Regions from separate parts of the Homo sapiens genome. Here region 2 is linked to region 1. Evidence: promoter capture Hi-C in human tissues and cell types (Jung and others, 2019). All regions are on one chromosome and are shown on one strand. The core of a region is centred on a gene start or on the middle of the fragment in contact, and the rest is flanking DNA. Distances in the headings are between cores, read along the strand shown.

The links. Contacts are between HindIII fragments. The study calls those that stand out against the background at their distance.
Region 2: a fragment that was not itself captured here is called in contact with the fragment with the promoter of PDE8B in region 1 in 2 of the 25 tissues and cell types used here (hippocampus and mesenchymal stem cells).

Annotation. Positions count from the first base shown.
Region 1 is chr5:77,206,787-77,212,959 of GRCh38, forward strand. PDE8B (phosphodiesterase 8B) reads left to right here and starts at 3,894. Exons shown (of 22, transcript NM_003719.5): 1 at 3,894-4,478. The coding sequence starts at 4,140. The HindIII fragment of the contact is 4,534 bases long and covers 1,901-6,173 here.
Region 2 is chr5:77,269,118-77,275,290 of GRCh38, forward strand. All of the region lies in intron 1 of PDE8B (phosphodiesterase 8B), which reads left to right. Among named protein-coding and RNA genes, the nearest start is that of PDE8B, 62 kb to the left of the region's middle. The HindIII fragment of the contact is 3,319 bases long and covers 915-4,233 here.

The DNA.
Region 1 (6,173 bases), core at 2,644-5,143:
CCAGGGAACTGTTGTATTTCAGGGTGGTTCTGTTGTGCACGTGGATTCAGGACTACTCTTTCTGTTCAAAAGTCCCACAATTCTAAATATAAAATAATTTAATAAAATGAAGCAAAAATTTCACAGCATTCTCGAATGTTGGTGATTTAGAGACTCTGGAGATCATCTAGGAAATTGAAGCCCAAAGGTTAAGTGACTTGCTCAAGGTTACACAGCCACAAGAGGCAGAACTCGGTTTCAGATTCACTCGTCTAACCCTGAATTCAATGTACCTTCCACTGTACTGGACTGCCTAATAAACGGTATCATTTCACTTATCAGTTGGTTAGATTTCCAATAGCTCCACCATTAGGAACACAGTTTGAATCCAGAAGCTCTGTAAGGTTGATTGGTTGATTAAATATTTGGTTATCTAAAAATCAATCAGATAGCTGCTATTGTTTTAACCTTTACAGCTAAGAATCATTCAAAATGTATTAATCACATTTTCTGCTTCTCTAGAGGAATTCTGAAGAGTCATGCCATCTTAGAATTGGAAGGGACCTTATTTGTTCAGGATCTTGCAGTGCCTGTGGGCCATAATTTTACAGTTAGCTCTTATTTAATACTATTATAAAACACACAAGCCATTCAGGTGACCCTGGACATATTGGAGGTTTTGTTTTACAATATGTTTCTGATTTAGTTTACTTTCTTTTGATTTGCTTCTTGGATATTTTCTGTTGCTAAATTTTTCTCCACTTAATTATTTTTTTAATAATGTTGGTCTTTCTGGCCTTATTCTGTAACTTAGGCCTAATTTTTATCAACAGTGTCTGAGCTTGTAGTCTTTGCTGTCACCTGGGATGCATTGAAGTGGTCAGTGGCAATTGGTTCAGAAATCTCTTCTGTGGGTCAGAACTCAGGCTTCAGAACTAAGCTGTGGAAATGATTTCAGTTAAACCATTTCCCCTCCACTTGCACACTTCTGCAAGTTTCAGCAGCCAGATCTGTTCCAGCAATGGGGGCAGGTTGCACATTCCCACTGAGAACACTTGGTGGAGATTATAAGGACACATTATTTTTTTCTTTCACTAAGCCAGAATTGGCAGTTGAAGATGTGTTTGAGCTACTGTCTGCTCTGGGAATGGGAAGAAAACTGTATACCTAGTGCATTTCCCCTTCTATCTTCTATTCCAACAAAGAAGTTGCAGTCAATGAAAGTCACTGGTCCTAATATGAACTGTTCAGTTAACCCACTAAAGCAGCCTAGTCCTATTCACTAGCTACCTTGAGGTCACCTACTCTTTCAAGGCTTAATTATTCTTATTTTTTAATGTAGAAAGTTCAACCTAAATTTGTTTCTGGGTGACTTCTAGCTTCATGATTCAGCTCCTAATGTTCTCCACCAGAAGATTGGTTGTAATTTCTGTTTCATCACAGTCTTCTTGCCTTTCAAAGCCTCAGTGAGTGACTGGTGCTTTTTTCTGGGTGGTTTCATTGCATTCCTAGAGAAAACTCTGAAAAAGTAGACATGTGTCATGAGAATATGCATGGCTGTAAATTTCAGTATGTGAAGGCTGTCATTGATAGCTCCATGAAAGGTAATGACTGAAATGCTATATGCATTATCACAGGTAAGCTTTAGGAATCATTAAACCCTGACTTGAACGTTACATCAGGGACTAGTATAGAGACTAGTGTTTTTGCAATTTAACTCTGATGTTGTTTTCCCAGGTCCTAAATTGTCCTTTGGAAGTAGAGCAGATGGTTGCTATGAGGCTTAGTTTTAAATGAATGACTGTCCCCATATCTCAGTCTCAGCCATTTAATGTGGTGTTCTTACAGGCATGGATGGGACAAGGAAACATGGATCTCAGCAGCCTGGAAGGGAACTGTGGGTGGAGGCTATGATGCCAGGAAAGGACTTACTCCTCCAGCTACTGGGAGTGCTGCCAGCAGAAAGCCCTTGGCTCAGCTGACATCTCCTAGGGGCAGTGCCTCAGCTGAAGAGAGCCACCTTGCCCAAGGTCGCTGAGGTGGCCTGCATGTAAAGACTGGTCCATGCTGGGGTATAAAGGCCCACCAGAACAACTCAGAACCCAGCCCCAACTCAGAACAACTCTGAAGCATCATCCCACCTTCAGAATCCTCCCTGCAGGGATGCCTGAGGCTTGGTCAATTTCTCCCTCTGCTCAAGCTTGCCTCCCTCCATTCCCTCCCTTTATTTCCTCCCACAAATGTTGACTACAAGAGCACTTCCTAAAAAGCCTCCCTCTGCCTGCTAAACACCATCTCAGAATCTGCTTCTAGGAGGACCCAACCTGTGCAGAAATTTTATGAGCAATTTGCCTGTCCATTAAAAAATACAGCATAGACTTTTTCCAGGTTAGCTGGAGATGGAGTTTTTTTGTATCAAAAAAAGAGAGCTAAACTGAGAAGAGAAGCAAAGGTAGAAGAATAAGGTTAGACTCTCCCTGTATAACTGAATTTGGGATTGGGAATGATATCTTGCTTCTCTATGAAATTTAGAAACTGTCTTTTGAAGTCTTCATCCAGTCACATCCAAGAGTGGTCCAGGAAGAAAAAGGAAAATAAGAATGAAAAAAAAACAAAAAACAAACCTTAAAATTGGATACTTCTTTGTGCCTTGCATTAAGCCTCTATGTTACTGCCCTTGTCCGTATAAGCAACTCTAGATAAAATCCTTTCTTAGACCATCTAATTTATCTCCCCGTGCCATTGTGAAAATCGGGCAGGAATTACTGCGGGAACCAGTGACTGAATGGGCAGTGGTGTCTCGCAGCTGTAACTCAGAGTTTACAAGGGAAGGATGAACAGCAGCCATCCTTCTAAAGGCATTCTTCCTCTCCTCCAGCACAGCTCAGTCTGTGCATGCCTCACCAAGGAGAATGAGGGAAGGCCTTGTTGACTGCCCAGCCCAGAGTGTGAGGAACAGCAGTTGACATGGGCGGCTGGACGGGATAGAAACCAGCATGAACATTTAGTGACACCTAAGGAAGAGGTGAAAATGGGGGAGAAAGCCAAGAACCATCAGACAGCTTCTTTCTGTTCTTGCCTTGGATCTTAGGGGAACGTATGTGTTCAAGGGTGCCTTCCTCCGCAGGGCCTCCCATCCCTTGGCACAAACTTCCAAACGATGAGTAGACATGGAATGGGCTTCTTCTGAAGACTGGGTCACCATCCAACTCAGCCTTCGGAGTAGGCGGTGGGGCTGGGGGAAGAGGACGGAACCATGAGGTCTCTCCATCACTTCCCGGGTGTGTTGAGAGGCAAGCAAATGCGGTGGGTGGGCCTGGGCTGTAGGGCCCCTGCCATTTCGGGAGGGGCCTCCTGGTGTTTAGCTCTGGGATGTGTGAAAATGTGTTGGTGAAAAGCGAGAGGCTTACACAGCCCTTCAGGGGAAGAGGGGCTGGGGCGCTGGGGGCGGCGTCGGGATGAGTGCAGAAGAGACGAGGCCTCTGGACAGCGGAGGAGGAGGGGAGGGCGCCGAGGCGCGGTGCCAGCTGCCGCGCACAGGGGCCCCGCGGCGGAGCCGAGCCGCGGGCACGCTCTGCCCTGTCGGGAGAGCTCCGGGAGCGGCGGGAGGGGCGGAGGGGCGCAGTGGGGCCCGGGCGGCTGCGGCCGCGGAGCCGGGGCACCTGAGGAGGAAGGAGGGTGGGAGCGAGGGAGGGAGGGGACGGGCGCAGACCGAAAGTGGGGAAAGAAGGTGCAGGCAGGCGGGCAGGCGGGCGGGCGCCCTGGCCCAGGGCCGCGGGTGCGGGAGCCCGGCGAGGTCGAGCTGGGCGGCGGCGGGGGCCGCGCCGAGGGAGGAGGGGAAGGCGGAGGCGCGGGGAGCGTGTTTGGGGCGCCGCGGCGGGGAGGGTGGCGGCCGCTGGTGCGCGCGGGGCGCTGTGTATGCGCGCTCCCCCGCTCGGGGAGGAAGATGGCCCAAAAGGGAAAGTTGGGGTGACGCGCGCGGTCCCCGGAGGCTCGGCGGGGGGCACCGCGGCCAGCCCGACGGAGCGGCGGACACACAGGCCGGGGGGCGCGCAGTCCGGGCGCCGCCGCGGCCGCCCCCTCACTGCAGGTGGCAGCGGGTGCGCTGGGTCCCGGCGGCCGCGGGCGCGGGCGGGCGCGCGGGGGAGCCCGGCCGAGGGATGGGCTGCGCCCCCAGCATCCATGTCTCGCAGAGCGGCGTGATCTACTGCCGGGACTCGGACGAGTCCAGCTCGCCCCGCCAGACCACCAGCGTGTCGCAGGGCCCGGCGGCACCCCTGCCCGGCCTCTTCGTCCAGACCGACGCCGCCGACGCCATCCCCCCGAGCCGCGCGTCGGGACCCCCCAGCGTAGCCCGCGTCCGCAGGGCCCGCACCGAGCTGGGCAGCGGTAGCAGCGCGGGTTCCGCAGCCCCCGCCGCGACCACCAGCAGGGGCCGGAGGCGCCACTGCTGCAGCAGCGCCGAGGCCGAGACTCAGACCTGCTACACCAGCGTGAAGGTAAATGCCCCGCGCTGGCACACGCCGTGGGGGCCGTCCGCCCCGTCGGCGGGGCTCGCACGGGTAGGGGGCTCCGGCGGAGTTGGGTGACCGTGAGGCGGTTGGTTTGGAGAGGTTGTCACTAAGGAGGAGTTTACTTTTCATTTGTGGAGATGATGGGAGCCCAGGAAATGTGGTCAGAAAAAGGCCCCTGGAGGGGTCCTGGAAGCGTCCTTAGCTGGTCCTGGGGGACTGGGCGGGGAAGGGAGCGCAGAAGGAAGCAGGTGGGCTGGCCTGTTCCTCCTTGAGGGCAGGAAGGCTGTGGCTTGGTTTATGCAGGAAGAGGGGTGGGGACCATTGAGAGCATTCGGTGGCCAGTCCTGTTGAATGAAATCTGAGCACTGAGCTGGATTTGCGTGCCTTGTAGGTGACTGGTGCAGTTGCAGCACCAGGATAGATAGTGCCCCATATTCCGATTTTTACCTGGGATTACCAGCCAGGCTGGAGTCTCAGCACAGGAACCGAGCGTAGGGATTTGTGAATGAATGAGTGTTCGTGTTTTAAGAGATGTGGGAACGGAGCAGAGTGGAACCTGTTGTTTGTCACTGTAACGTTTCTCTGGGTTGGCTGCATCCTAGACAGAATTGAGAGAACCGGGCCATGAGTTCGGAGTGTCAGCAGAGCCACCGTGAGGGGACGTGGTTTCCAGTGCAGTACAGCTGTCTGAGGATGATTCTGCACATACAACTGATCTTCCCAGAGAGTGGGATTTTGAGGAAGTGGAAAAAATTGTTTAGATGGTTAAAGCAGTCGCTAAATATTTATTTCTTAAAGACAGAAGAAAAATAATTATTTAAATAGTGTCCTCCCGTATGTTCTCAAAGTACCGTTAAATCCAAGAGGCTTTTCATTGTGTAAATCTGGGCACTGGGTCTTTTTTCCTTTCAGCAAACAAGATAACAATGGCATATCCTATTGTACAGAGAGAAAAAAATACTCCTAATGTCAGATAGAATCACAGCCTTTACCTGGTCAATAGGTTACCAAGAACCATTCCATGGATTATTTGTCAAAGACACATTTGTATTTTTAATAGTTAAAAACTTGGTCTTCATTGGATGAAGGCAGCCCACAGTGGAGGAGTGAGGAGAAGGATAACATGTTTTGGCTTCAATCTGGAAGTCCAAAAGTTTTTTAATGAACCTATTTTTTTTTTAACAGCATCTGATTGTTTAACATGAAGCTTGACTGATGTTTGCTTGTGGTTGCAGTGTTTCTCTGGCAGTAATCATAATCACCATTATAGTAAAAACATCGTTTATTGAGCACCTACTATGTGCCAGGAGTAAGCTTTCTCTCCTAACTATTGAATGTTAACAGTGTGATCTTAGCATAGCATGTCTGAAGACTAGAGTCTAGGATTTATGACAGTACAAACCTACCAGTTGCCCATTCGTTACAGAGGCATGTGCTGAACGCTATACTTTGCTTTTGTCAAGCTCTCTCTCTCTCCCCCTCCCTGTTCACACAAAGTTAGCTTTAGGAGCAATTTTCAGGGATGAAAATGTTAAATTTGGTGAAAATATTAAGTTGGGATATTATCAGTAAAGACCATCCTTTTGCCTGACGGTTGAAGACCTGAAGCAGTAGTTCAAAATTGTGACAGCTCATGAACTTTGTGATACTTTTTTTGGTTGCTCCAGAGAAATTGTGAAT
Region 2 (6,173 bases), core at 1,324-3,823, 61 kb after region 1:
GCCACATCCTCGCCAGCATTTGTTGTTGCCTGTCTTTTGGATTAAAGCCATTTTAACTGGGGTGAGATGATATCTCATTGTAGTTTTCATTTGCATTTCTCTGGTGATCAATGATGTTGAGCATCTTTTTATATACCTGTTTGCCATTTGTATTTCTTTTTTGAGAACTGTCTATTCAGGTCTTTTGCCCATTTTAAATGGGATTATTAGATTTTTCCTATAGAGTTGTTTGAGCTCCTTATATATTTTGGTTATTACGCTCTTGTCAGATGGTTAGTTTGCAAATATTTTCTCCCATTCCGTGGGTTGTCTCTTCACTTTGTTGATTGTTTCCTTTGCTGTGCAGAAGCTTTTTAACTTGATATGATCCCATTTATCCATTCTTGCTTTGTTGCCTGTGCTTGTGGGGTATTACTCAAGAAATCTTTGCCCAGTCCAATGTTCTGGAGAGTTTCCCCAGTGTTTTCTTTTAACGGTTTCATAGTTTGAGGTCTTAGATTTAAGCCTTTAATCCATTTTGATTTGATTTTTGTATATGGTGAGAGATAGGGTTCTAGTTCCATTCTTCTGTATATGGATATCCAGTTTTCCTAGCACCCATTAAAGAGATTGTCCTTTCTTCAATATATATTCTTGGCACCTTTGTTGAAAATGAGTTTACTGTAGATGTATGGATTTATTTTTGGGTTCTCTATTCTGTTCCATTGCTCTATGTGTCCGTTTTTATGCCAGTACCATGCTGTTTTGGTTACTATAGCTCTGGAGTATGATCTGAAGTCAGGTAATGGGATTCCTCCAGTTTTGTTCTTTTTGTTCAGGATAACTTTGGCTATTCTGGGTCTTTTGTGATTCCACTTAAATTTTAGGATTTTTTTCTCTATTTCTGTGAAGAATGTTGTTGGTATTTTGCTAGGGATTGCATTGAATCTGTAGATTGCTTTGGGTAGTATGGACGTCTTAACAGTATTAATTCTTATAATCCATGGACATGGAATATCTTTTCAATTCTTAGTATCCTCTTCAATTTCTTTCATCAGTGTTTTACAGTTTTAATTGTAGAGATCTTTCACTTATTTTGTTAATTCCTATGTATTTTATTTGTAGCTATTTTAAATGGGATTACTTTTTGATTTTTACACTGTCCACTGTTTGCATACAGAAATGCTACTGATTTTTGTACGTTGATTTTGTATCCTGTAACTTTACTGAATATGTTTATCCATTCTAATAGTTTTTTGGTGAAATCTTTAGGTTTTTCCAAGTATAAGACCATATCATCTGCAAACAAGAATAATTTGACTACTTCCTTTTCAATTTGGATGCCTTTTATTTCTTTCTCTTGTCTGGTTGCTCTAGCTGGTAATTCCCCATATTCCCTCTTACCGTTCACTTCTGCCTCTGCTTTGTGCCCTTAGCACTGGAGCTACATCTTAAGAGGTGGGGTGACATGTTGATGGTATTTGGCTGAGGGACCCTGAAGCTTCTGGATCTTGCTTGTAATTGTCCACTCTGTTCAACAAGATACCTAGGGGGCATGTGTGCACAGAAGATAGTGATTTTTCCGGGCTCTTGTTATTAAACCTTGGCCCCACACTCTTAATATGGAACACTGCTTTGGCAGAAGGAAGAGCTAACCAGAGATACCACTTCCTTCTGGGAAGAAGCAGCAGGGCTGGGAGAATCCTAGCCCAGACTTTCTCTGGAAGCTGCTCCAGCTCCTGACCAGGCTTATCTTACCAGCCGGGTGGGAGTTAGGAGGACTCCGGAGTCACACAGAAAGCCAAAAATCTCCTGAAAACAATACCCTTTCCAGTGTAGATCCTAGGCTCACCCCTCATTGTTCACTCAGGAATTAAGGCAGCTCTGGGGGTAACCCCATTTATGGAATCCATGCAATGATGGCATTGTGGGGGACACTGGCTAAGCTCCCAAGGGGATGTGCTATAACTGCATCGCAGTGGCTAGGCCCCACCCTTCTCATGCCTCTTCCCAGGTCACTATGGTGATGAGTCACTAATATCAAGAAGTAAAGAAGAATGGCAGTTTATAAAAGACCATAAGATCTCCCTATTCCAGGATCAATGGTACATATGGTTCCTTTTCTTTCTTCTTTGTCTTACTTGTCCTTTAAAACCTCCATTTGAGAGCTGCCTCTTCCAGAAAGCCTTCCTTGACCACCTCCAGCTGAAGTCTGGTTTGGAGCTATCTTCTCTGAGCTACTACTTGCCACCCTGGAAGGCTGTGGCTGGTACGTGATCTTGAGAAAGTAGTTCCCTAGCTTTGTGGGAGTGGAATCTAGATGACAAATGGTTAAGGAGTTGGGGATAGGGGTGTAGATGGGACAGCCAAGGCTGATACCTTTCAAATTTCAGGTTGAACTGTGGAATGAAGAAGGTAGTGACTGAAGGTCACTGGGGAAGTTTATTTATTTGTTTTTTGATGTGAAGAACTTTTTTTTAAGGCAGAGAAGAGGAGTATTGGAAACATTAGTAAAATAGGGAATAATCAACAGGTCATGGCCCAGGAGGAGGCCAGAAGAAGTGGAATCAATAACAGATGGAAGGAAGTGAAAGGGAAGACACAGAGGGAGCTCTGGCTGGACATCCCCAAAGTTGTTCAACAATGGGAGCCACTGTTTCTTGAAAGTTGACTAGATGCTGGATAGTCCTTATACATTCTCATCTGATTTCCACAGCAGCCACTTCACATTCTACGGATGAGAAAACCGAGGCTTATAACAGGTTCTTCAGGTGGTACATGTTGGGGAGGGATGTGAATGTAGTCAGTGCAACTTGCAGAATCTGCTCTACCAGAGTCTTACTTCTCAAAGTGTGGTCCTCGGAACAGTACCACCTGGGAGCCCATTAGAAATGTCAACTCTCAGCCACATCCTCAGACCAACTGAAACAGACCTGCGATGTTTACATATGTTTAGGTCTGGAAACCCTGGTCTAAACTTCTGCCCCTTGTTCTCCTTGAAGTGTTAGATGTTGGCTTGGCTCCCTGCTTAGGGTAAGGTTATTGGAGCATGCCGAGGGCAGAGGCTTGAGGGTAGAGGGGAACAGCAAATCATGGGAATGTGATGGAATGTATTAAGAGAGAGCTTCTAGAAGGTTATGATATCTATTAGTTCACAGGTTATGGCTAAACTGGTAATGACTTCATTTAAGTTGATATCATTGTACTTTGCAGAGAGAACAGCCAAGTAACCTTGGTTGACTCTGGTTGTTCTAATATTCTTAGCTATCCATTCTCTTGGGAGGGTCAAACCACAGCTGGCTGATCTGTTATCAAAGGATTTGTGGTGCCTCGAACATGTCCTGTTATTTCACAATCAGTGCCCTTTGTACATATGGTTCCTTTTATTTCTTCTTTGTCTGACTTGTCCTTTAAAACCTCCATTTGAGAGCTGCCTCTTCCAGAAAGCCTTCCTTGACCACCTCCAGCTGCAGTCTGGTTTGGAGCTATCTTCTCTGAGCTACTGCTTGCCACCCTGGAAGGCTGTGGCTGGTATGTGATCTTTAAAGGACTTAGCATGGTACCTGGCACATAGTAAGTGCTCAATAAGCACTAGCTTCTATTATTAGCCCAGAAGTAGGAATAAAAACAGTTAAGAGTAGAACACATGGTTCAGAGGGCAGCATAGTATAAAGGGGGCAAAAATAACCGAAGGTCCTAGCAAGAGCCATATGGAAGTGGTCAACTAGGAGGTTTCTGTGCTGGGAAGGGAGGGTGAGAAGGCAAGAGAGAGGCAGTAGAAAGTTCATTATTTTTTAATGTATTTTTATTGTGTATATTTAAGGAGAGAAAGTGATGTTTTGATATACCTATGCATAGAATGATTTTGAATGGGCCTAATTGCTACGACGTCAGTTACAAGACGGAGGAGAAAGAAGACAAGACATGAATTTAAAGAAACTTGCTTATCCAAATCATTCTTCTTTTAAGAAAGCTTTGTATTCATTATAGCTGATTATAAGAGTTAGGACAAATTTATGATGTGGCAGACTTGTGTTTTAGCTTATTAGTGTGTCTCTGTGCTGCACTGAAGCCCTTGTCATCACTGCAGTGTACGTAGCTCCCATTTATGTACTTTCTATAGAATCTGAAGCCTAATTTTAACATTGTATCGTTTTTTATAGTTATTGACACTTTGCTTCTATCCTATCAATTCTATCTGTAATTTATTTCAAATCAATTTCTTGAACAGGCAGGTAATAGCCTATTATATTATTTTTCCTATGGGAAAATATGATCGTTTATTAATTTGGTTTTTTAAAATTTACTAAACATCTATTACCCAGAAAGCACTATAGAAAATGCTTTTGAGAGATGCAGTTATGAACTAGCAATCGCCCTTGTCCTTCAGGAAGCTGACAGGCTAGGAGGGGAGATATGATAGGTAGAGATGACTTTAAACACAACAATGTGAGATGCTGTAAGAGAGGCAGGGTAGTACACTTACTGAGGAAGAATAACTTGCTTTTGCCTGGGGACAGGAGTACAGGATAAAAGCTTTGAGGCAAAGGCAGTGGTTCAACTTGACCTTGAGATTTTGTCTGGGTTTGACAGGAAGAAATAGGGCAAAAGCCATTTGAGGTGGACAAAATAGTATATAAAAAATAAAGTTTGATTTTTATTAACACAATGGTGAAAAGAGAGAACTTCCAGGTAGTTCCATCTGTTTTTTTTTTATTTATTTTTTATTTTTTATTTTTTTTTGAGATGGAGTTTCATTCTTGTTGCCCAGGCTGGAGTGCAATGGCATGATCTTTGCTCACTGCAACCTCCGCCTCTTGAGTTCAAGCAATTCTCCTGCCTCAGCCTCCCGAGTAGCTAGGATTACAGACATGCGCCACTATGCCCGGCTAATTTTGTATTTTTAGTAGAGACAAAGTTTCTCCATGTTGGTCAGGCTGGTCTCGAACTCCCGACCTCAGGTGATCTGCCTGCCTCGGCCTCCCAACGTGATGGGATTACAGGCGTGAACCATCTTGCCCAGCTAGTTCTATCTTTAGACTAAAATTTAAGTATCTATAAAAAGGAGGAACTGCTGTTTAATGAATGCAAATGTTTAGGTACATATATATTATCTCAATTAATCCTCAAAAAATCCCTATGAGGTAGGGAGGTATTATTATTTGCATTATAGAGGTAAATAAGCTGAGGTTCAGGAAGTTAATCATTTTGCTCAAGGCCACACAGGTCATCTGCGGCAGGGCTGGAAATCCAACACAGATCTATCTGATTCCAAAGCTTTCCACTGCTTCCTGCTGCCTTCCTGCGGACCCATTCATAAGACTGACATATTCATTCATTCCACTGACATATTCATTCATTCCACAAGTAGTTATTGAGCATCTGACATGTCCCAGGTGCTATGCTAGCTCCTGGACATGCAGTGATGGCCAACCTGGCCTAGCTACATGTGGGGGACAAATGGAGGCACAAATAGTACCTTGGTATTCTGAGACCTACAGATTTCCAATTAAGTATAAATTTAGAAGATTAATGTGCTTTATTGATCTCATCAAATAGCCTATTGATAACCCTCCTCAAATAACTAGTAAAGGCACAGTGTTCACTGAGGAAAAACAGATGGGAAAATACAGGATATTTCAATGTCATAGTTGGAAAATTTACAACTTAACTATTTTATTAAAATGTCAGTACTTTGGAATTTTAGCAGTTGTAGACCTGAGAGCCCGAGAGGAGACTGCACCCATGCCATGCAAATTGTCATAAAAGTTTTAGATAAAAGTTCATATATACGTTTCAGAGAGAGAAAAAGAGAAAGAGAAAGAGATTTTGTTGACAGCCAGATGAAATTAAGTGGTCAGAAATTTAATCCACTGGCCCACTAAAAGAAATATTTTCAAGATACTGAGAAATGCAAAAAAAATGTAAAAACCAAGCATAATATCACCACTTTACACCACATAGTATCACACACACACACTAGTTGAGTACAGTGGTGCCCACCTGTAGTCCCAGCTACTTGGGAGGCTGAAGCAGGAGGATCACCTGAGTTCAGGATTTGTGACCAGCCTGGACAAAATAGTGAGACCCCATCTTTTTTTAAAAAAGAAAAAATATATATACTGTATATGTAAAGTCCTTCCCCTTGATCACTACTCCTCCAGCCCCACCCTAGAGGTAACCACTGTTAACAA